2 separate regions of the Homo sapiens genome follow, and region 1 is linked to region 2. The links are contacts of gene promoters, found by promoter capture Hi-C in blood cells and fetal thymus (Javierre and others, 2016). All regions are on one chromosome and are shown on one strand. Each heading gives the region's core, a stretch centred on a gene start or on the middle of the fragment in contact. The rest is flanking DNA. Distances are from core to core; before and after follow the strand shown.

What was found. Contacts are between HindIII fragments. The CHiCAGO score rates a contact against its expected background, and 5 or more counts as called.
Region 1: a contact is called between a fragment that was not itself captured here and the fragment with the promoter of SH3BP1 in region 2, in 4 of 17 cell types (endothelial precursors, M0 macrophages, M1 macrophages and 1 more). The highest score is 10.5, in endothelial precursors.

Annotation. Positions count from the first base shown.
Region 1 is chr22:37,727,699-37,732,441 of GRCh38, forward strand. The region is part of intron 7 of TRIOBP (TRIO and F-actin binding protein); the gene reads left to right. Among named protein-coding and RNA genes, the nearest start is that of TRIOBP, 33 kb to the left of the region's middle. The HindIII fragment of the contact is 1,708 bases long and covers 793-2,500 here.
Region 2 is chr22:37,638,419-37,642,224 of GRCh38, forward strand. SH3BP1 (SH3 domain binding protein 1) reads left to right here and starts at 1,251. Exons shown (of 18, transcript NM_018957.6): 1 at 1,251-1,428; 2 at 2,708-2,750; 3 at 2,956-3,060. The coding sequence starts at 1,370. It overlaps PDXP-DT (PDXP divergent transcript), which reads right to left. Exons shown (of 6, transcript NR_109952.1): 6 at 3,414-3,806. RefSeq lists silencers at 1-218, 849-998, 1,029-1,468. The HindIII fragment of the contact is 8,436 bases long and covers 1-3,806 here.

The sequences.
Region 1 (4,743 bases), core at 397-2,896, 90 kb after region 2:
GAGCTACCTATTTTAAGAAAGAAAGCTCACAGAATTATGGATTTTTAGCAGTCAAACATCCTGGGACACCTGAAGTCCAGGTGTCTTTTGAGTCTCCTTGGTCAGCAGCACTGGCCCCCTGGAAGGGGAGCATTTCCTCCTGATCAGGCTGAGGTTTCTCTCCCCAGAAGTTCCAGCCCTCGAGTTTTCAAGAATCAGAGCTAGAATTCCATTAGTTAGGGTCAAGAGAACAACAGCAACAAAAAGCAGTCTGGAAGTCTCAAAACTTTCCATGTATATAATTCAACGAATTTTTAGTTTATTTACCAAGTTGTCCAACCATTGCCACAATCTAACTTTAGAACATTTTCATCACCCTAAAGGGTATGGAATATTTTGTATCTAAAATTCCTCTTTGCTGCTCCTTGGGAAAGTTTTCTCCTGGATTTGAATCTGCATGAGAAACCTTATCAGTCTTGGCTGGGTGCAGTGGCTCCCTCCTGTAATCCCAGCACTGGAGCTTGCAGTGAGCCAAGATCATGCCACTACACTCCAGCCTGGGTGACAGAGTGAGACTCCGTCTCAAAAAAAAAAAAAAAAAAAAAAATTAGCCGGGCATAGTGGCACACGCCTGTAGTCCCAGCTACTCAGGAGGCTGAGGCAGCAGTATTGCCTGAATTTGGGAGGTGGAGTTTGCAGTGAGCTGAGATTGCGTCATTGCACTCCAGCCTGGGCAACAAGAGTGAAACTCCATCTCAAAAAAAGAAAAAAAAGAAACTTTATCTCTTGTTCTTCAAATTTCCTTTTCCAGTAAGCTTGATCATTTAATATCCAGATGACAACCGTGTGGTCTCCAGCATTAGTATAATTCTTTCTTTGGCCTTAAAAACAAAAACCCAGAGCAGTTTTAGGTTTACAGCAAAATTGAGCAGAAAGTGCAGTGTTCCATGCACAGCCTCTCCCACTACCAATATCCTGTACTAGATAGGTATGCTTGTTTCCAGCTCCTGGCCTCAAGGGATCCTCCTTTCTTGGCCTCTCAAAGTGCTGGTGAGCCACTGTACTGGGCAGTAGGGTGATACATTTGTTACAATCCATGAACCTACACTATGAAATCACCCAAAGTTTAGGGTTCACTCTTGGTGATGTACAGCCTATAGGCTTGAATGAATGTATGACAAGTATCCACCATTGTAACATCATGGAGTAGTTTCACCCTGAAAGTCTTCAGTGTCTTTAACTTTTTTTTTTGTTTGGAGATGGAGTCTCGCTCTGTCACCCAGGCTGGAGTGCAGTAGTGCAATCTTGGCTCACTGCAACCTCTGCCTTCTGGGTTCAAGCAGTTCTCCTGCCTCAGCCTCCCGAGGAGCTGGGACTACAGGAGCATGCCGCCACATCCGGCTAATTTTTTTGTATTTTTAGTAGCGACAGGGTTTCACCCTGTTGCCCAGGCTAGTCTTGAACTCCTGAGCTCAGGCAATCTACCCACCTCGGCCTCCCAAAGTGCTGGGATTATAGGCGTGAGCCACCGTGCCTGGTCTGACCTTTTTTTTTTTTGAAACAGGGTCTTGCTTTGTCACCCAGCAGTAGTGCAGTGGCGTGATCATGGCTCACTGCGGCCTCAAACTGCCAGGCTCAAGCGATTCTCTCACCTCAGCCTCCTCAGTAGCTGGGACTACAGGCGTGTACCACTATACCCAGCTAATTTTTCTACTTTTTGTAGAGATGGAGTCTCACTTTGTTGCCCAGGTTGGTCTCAAACTCCTGGCCTCAAGCAATGCTCCCACCTTGGCCTCCCAAAGTGTCTTTGACCTTTTTATGATTACTATTTCTTGTCTAATGTCAATTTTCCTAACTTTGTCTTAACTAATAACTCAGCAGGGACATTAAGGTCTTTAAGCCAAAGTTAATTAATTTTCTTTCCTTTTTTCCAGGATAATTTCAGAGAGATAAGGTGTTTATATTAATAATAGAAATGAGAAATATGTTTACACTTTTATTAACCATTTGTTTTTACACGATCACTCCTATACATTTAATTCTACTCTCTTTGAAATAGCTTATTTACCTTTTAGGGAAGTTTTCATAATTTTACTGAATAATTAAAATTTTTCCTCTTATCTGGCACCTTTTCCAAGTAGAAAACCATTCATCCTCTGAATATGGAAAATTTTAAAACTGTGCAGTGTGTGTGTAAGGGACAGACTGGAGCTTATGAGCGGGTGGCTGTAGGAGTGTGCTTTTATTTTCTCCTATTTCCTCATCGATATGTATTTATTGAGCATCTACTCTGTCCAAGCATTGTCCCGAGTCTGGAAAATTTTTCTTAAAGGGTTGTCACATCAAAGCATTGGGAGTTTTGGCTTGATCTTAATTTTTTTTTCCTTAGATGCCTTTGGCATCTCTTAGAGTCACGTAGCATCCTGTGGTCATTTGAATTCAAAACCTAGCCTTCACTGGATTTGCTAGACTTGATGGCTTTGCTCCTTTAATTCTCTCTGGAGGTCGAAGAACCCATCTAAGCTTCCGAAGGAAACGTTTCCTTTGTCATGCTTGGTGCGGCCACATCAACCCTCGGGAACAGGTGGCCCCGAGGAGACGCTGTTGCTTCAGCATCGGACAAGCCAGGTCTCTGTTGGGGTTTCAGAATCTTCTTGAGTCCCTCACTCTTTTCTCTCAGTTCTACATGGGGGAAAAAAGGAAGGCGAGTTCTCAGGAGGAATGCTCATCAAGCAAGCTGGAGTTCGTATGGAAAATGCATCCATCCGGAAGAGAACACACAAGTGCCTTGCTTCCCTGCACCGGGTGTTTCCACTATTGTCCTCCTGGTCCTCCCCATTAGGGAGGAACAGCCCACTGGGTCACGTCTGGGCTCTTGCTTCATCGAAGCTCCTATACCCCAGTTCGGGGGAAAATTCACTCTAAGGCCTTCAGCTCTCACAGAGTAAGGAAACGCACTCACCTCCAATTAGATTACAAATTGGCTGGGTGCAGTGGCTCATGCTTGTAATGCCAAGACTTTGGGAGGTCAAGGCAGGTGGATTACCTGAGGTCAGGAGTTCAAAATGAGACCAGCCTGGCCAACATGGTGAAACCCCGTCTCTACTAAAAATATAAAAATTAGCTGGGCATGGTGGTGGACACCTGTAATCCCAGCTGCTCAGCAGGCTGAGGCAGGAAAATCACTTAAAACCAGAAGGCGGAGGTTGCAGTGAGCTGAGATTGCACCACTGCACTCCAGCCTGGGTGACAGAGCGAGACTCCATCTCAAAAAAAAAAAAAAAAAAAAAGTTACAAACAGCCTGCCCAGGGAGCCCTCAAGCTCAGAAACACTTCCTCCAGGGAACTTTGGTTCCTCTCCGAACCAGCTGCCAATAACTGCTAACAACTAACATTATTGTGCTTTATGGCTCTGATTCTAATGACATTGGCAAAAGACATGAAACAACAAAAAACTCCAACCCCATACTTTTTTTTTGAGACAGGATCTTGCTCTTTCACCCAGGCTGGAATGCAGTGGCATGATCATGGCTCACTGCAGCCTCAACCTCCCAGGCTGAAGCGATCCTCCCACCTCAGCTTCCCAAGTAGCTGGGACTACAGCCACGTACCACCATGCTCGGCTCATTAAAAAAATTTTTTTTTCCTAGAACAAGGTCTCATTCTGTTGCCAGGGCTGTCTCAAACTCCTCGACTCAAGTGATCCTCTGACCTCAGCCTCCCCAAGTGCTGGAATTACAGGTGTAAAGACACTGTACCTGGCCTCCCAACCCCATATATATATATATATATTTTTTGAGACAGGGTCTCACTATGTCACCCAGGCTGGAGTGCAGTGGCGCGATCTCAGCTCACTGCAACCTCCACCTCCTGGGGTCAAGCGATCCTCCTGCCTCAGCCTCCTGAGTAGCTGGGATTACAGGCACGTGCCACCACGCCTGGCTAAGTTTTGTATTTTTAGTAGAGATTGGGTTTCACTATGTTGACCAGGCTGGTCTCGAACTCCTGACCTCAAGTGATCCACCCACCTCAGCCTCCCAAAGTGCTGTGATTAGAGGCATGAGCCACCACACCTGGGCTAATTTTTGTATTTTTAGAGACTAGGTTTCACTATGTTGTCTAGGCTGGTCTTGAACTCCTGAGCTCAAGCCATCCGCCTGCCTCAGCCTCCCAAAGTTCTGGGATTACAGGCGTGACCCATTGCGCCCTGCCCAATCCCATACTTTTGAAGGTGTCGTTCCAGCATGGCTCCTCAGGCACAGGCCCACCACAGACAGCAGGGCCTATGGAGGCCTGAGCAGAGTTTCCTCATACTTCCCTTTTTGCTGCCTCACTCTGGGTCCACCACAGGGTGGCCTTTTTCAGGCTTCTCTTCCTGGTTCAGTTCATCGACCAAAGACATGGCTCCATTTGCTAACTGAGACCCAACCAAAATAAACATTCATGGAGTGGTTGGGCCTTTTGTTGTGACCCCTTAGGTAGAGGAAGGGAGAGATATGCCCAGGTTCTGTTTGGTGTTTCTACCTGTCAATAGAGATACCACGTTAATCATTAACAGCCATGCCTCCCAGTTAGTAAGCAAGACAACTAACTGGAACTAGACTTTTTACACAAGTTAGAGATGATCTTCATCGGATGCGTCAACAATGCCTGAAGCCCAGTGTCTTAGAAACAACACTTGCCCAGGGTCAGGCGTGGTGGCTCATGCCTGTAATCCCAGCTACTTGGGAGATTAAGGCAGAGAATCACTTGAACCCGGGAGAT
Region 2 (3,806 bases), core at 1-2,500:
CAATGAGTCCTGCCTCATTAGGGAGGAGAGAAGCAGCCAGTGAGTGTGCCAGGCCCTGGGCTAGGTGCTGGGAGTATGGAGATGTGTGGGGCCAAGGTCCTGCCTCTGAGAGGCGCCCAGTCTGCACCGGCACACAGTCTGCACCGGCACACAGTAGTGGCTCAAATAGTCTCAAACTAAACTGAAACTAACAAAGCAAAGTGCAGAGGGTGTGGCAGGACTCTGGGGCACACCCTCCCCTCTTCCCCACGCCTGCGGCTCCTGATGCCACAGGGGTGCAGGGTAAGGAGAGCCTACTGTTTCCTAAAGGCGCTCACATCTTGTAAAACCAGCAGTTATGGAGCACTTACTGTATGCCTAACTCTGTGTTGAGTGGAGGGCCAAAGAGGAGAACTACTGAGTTTGGGGGCAGTCAGAGCAGCACCTACATCATTGCCCTACAAGAAGGAAGGGGGACTGAGGCTGTTTGCCAGGAGGAATGAGAGGAGACGGGCTTCACAGATGGAGCAAACTGCCAGGAGATGTGGAGAACAGGGTGTCGCGAACCGCTCTGGGAGGGTTCCTGGTGGCTGAGGGGTGGCACGCACCTCCCTTAAAGGGAGCTGGCAGGGGTGTCTTGTCCACTCTGCAGAATGGGCAGGCCCAGGACAGCTGGCCCATCAGACCATTAGAAACAGCGAGTCCGGAGTTCCAGGGGCTTGTCCACGGCCACACAGCAGCCCGTGGCCCCAGGAAGCCAAAGCTCCCAGCCAGTCATCCAGTGGTGGGGGGTTTAGTTCCAGGGGGCCAGAGGTCCTCTGCGGAAGAGAGTGCAAGGCAGTATCCGCGGCAGGCCCAGAGAGGCCAGGACAGGTCAGAAAGGCCTACCCCTCTTTCGCTTGGTACCCTTTCCTCTTTGCGAGGGATGCAAAGGTTATTTATACTTCGGGTCTGCAGGCTGCGGGTGGGGCAGGCACCCCGCCTGGGGCGGGTTGCGGGCGCAGGGGCAGGAATGGGCTTACCTGCTTCCCGCCACCGGGGCTGGGCGGGGCGCTGCGGGGAGGAGGAGCCGGGCACAACCTGTGGACGGCCGCGGCCGGCGGACACACAGCAGCGGGGGCCCGGCCGGGGGTCGCCCGGGGGCCCGGAAGCCGGGGAAGAGCGAGGAAACCAACTTGGAGAGAGGAGTGACCTGGGGGCCGGGGGCGGAGTCGTGAGCGGGGGAGGAGAGAGCCGGCCGCCAGCAAGAGCCGCGCGGCGGCCCAGGAAGCGAGAGCGCCGCCCACCCATCCGGGGCAAGAGCCGCGCCGCAGGAGAGGCAGGCTGGACCGGGGGCTCCCCGGGCCCGCGACCCCCGCCGTGACCCCGCAGCCCCCAGCTCGCCCCCAAGATGATGAAGAGGCAGCTGCACCGCATGCGGCAGCTGGCCCAGACGGGCAGCTTGGGACGGTGAGTGTCACCCGCTTCCAGCCCCACTCTTACCCCGGCAGGACTTGAGGGGTCGTAAAAGGGTCGGGGGAGACGGGGGTGGGGGAGGCTGGGGACAGCTGGGCAGCCACCCTCTGAGCGGCCAGACTCCTGCTCTCTCTTCCTCCTCTCTGAACGCCGCCCCCGTCTCTCGGGCAGAGCTGGAGGAGCAAGGGTGGCCTTTGGGGGAAGGGATGCCCCCCCTTACCGGATTGGAGGGGGCTTCAGGCGGGAGAATGCTCTCTGCCCTAGGACGCTGGGACTTCTCTGCCTCCACGAGTCTCTAAGTGGATGGTCCTCCTGACCTCACTTGTCCCCTCTGGACAATGGGACAGTTCACCACCTCTGCTTGCTGGGCCGGGGAGGGAGGAGGGTCGATTAGGGCCACAGACCTGGGGCGAGGGGAGGAGATGGGTCCTGGCCTGGTGGGAGGAGGGGCCTGCCCCTGGCCTGCAGCGTCCCTCCCCCTCCCCCTCCCCCCAGCCCAGGGGCCTCCTGCTTCTGTCTCGTTTCTGCTTTTCCTGGACTCAGGTGGAAATATCCCCAGGTCTCCCAGCTCCCACCCCCAGCCTCTGAGCCGGTGGCACGGAGGCCGGAAGTTTGGGGAGCCTCTCAGAGCCTGTCTTCTCTGCTCCTCTTCCCCCAGCCTCAGGAGTTCCCCATTCTCTGGGTCCAGGGAGGGGACTGGGTGTCCAGAGACCTGGTTCTAGTCTCACACTGGCACAGATGCCTACATAGCCTGGACAGTCAGACCACCTTGCAGTGGGCCTTGGCATCCCCCATGTGTCCCCAGGTGGGGGCCAAGGGCCTGTGCACCCCTGCCCACAGCTGTAGTCCAGAGTGCTGTGTGACTGTGCCTAGGAGTCTGAGCTCCTGCACTTCCCGTTCTTGGGGCCAGCTAATACTCCTCATCCCGGGGTGGGCTGAGGATTTGGGAGTGGGCAGAAAAGAGGCTTCTGTGTCCCAAAGCTGGGCCCCGGGTGGGTCTCTCAGCCTCCCCTTTAGTTTCATCTGTCCGCCCTCTCTCAGGACACAGCCCTGGGTGGAGGAGGAAAAACCCATGTATCCTATTCCCACCCCCATGGAATGTGCTCCGACTGGGATGAAGCAACTGGGCCACCCAGGGCAGGCCTCAGCTGGGAGGGACAGTGGAAGCACTGGGGTCCAGGTGCCCTGCTGCGGGGAAGGGAAGTAGGGGGCGTTCTAACCCAGGCAGGCTCAGCAGAAGCACTCTCCCCCCCCCCCCCACCACTCCCCGCAGCACCCCGGAGACCGCTGAGTTCCTGGGTGAGGACCTGCTGCAGGTACGTGCCTGGGCCGGGCAGGTGGGAAGGCAGGCCTGTGCAGGCTGTCTCGGAGCAGAGGGCCGGGGCGGGGACGCCAGGTAGGGGCCTGGGTTGAGTCATTCCTCAAGCTGTTGGCCATGGGGTCCCCAGGGGACAGGAGAAAGTTTCCTGCTCAGGGGGAGACAGCCTCTCTTGATCCTTAACCTCCATACCTCCTTCCCAGGTAGAACAGCGGCTGGAGCCGGCCAAGCGGGCAGCCCACAACATCCACAAGCGGCTGCAGGCCTGTCTGCAGGGCCAGAGCGGGGCAGACATGGACAAGCGGGTGGTGAGTGGGGGGTCCCGGGAAGGAGGGGCCTGAGCAGGAGACTTCCATCCAATGGGGAAGCAAGGTCGGGGCTGGGGTTTCCTTGCCAGTCTGAGTGTCTGGCACCAAGGGCATGGAGACTGCTCTGTTCCAAGGCCCCTCTGGCACTGCACTCAAGAGGCCCTATACCTTCCCCATCACCTTTACCCCACTTCCCTGTGCACCAGTTCCCATAAGCCAAGGCCAGGCTTCTGACAGCACCTGAACTTCTCTGTCCAATCAGTGCGCAAGAGCAGGCTGTCAATGGGGCGGCCTCAGAGGGTTTCCTGAAGGAGGTAGCAATTGAGCTGGCTTTTGAGGGATACACGTTTATTAATCAAGAGGCAGCGTTTATTGGCTGATAACCGCCAGCTTGTTACTAACATATGAGTGCACTGTCTCATGGAACACTGGCACAACCCTAGGGGCAGGCATTGCTTTACACATGAGGAACTGGAGGCTCAGAGATAAAGTCACTTGTCCAAGGTCACATAGCTAGTAAGTGGCAGAACTGAGGTTTGAACCCTGGTCTCTGATCCCAGAGCAGGCATTCCCCGTAACTCCAGATGGGGTGGGAGTGTGGGGCCATGTTTTGGAATCAGTTGACAATTCAGTGTGGCCAAGGCAAGGAAATTGGGAGCCATAGAGCGTTTGAACTCAGCGGTGGCTAGGTCAGCCATATATACCCTGGGACAGGGGAAAGAGCTCCCGCTCCCATTCTCCCTCCA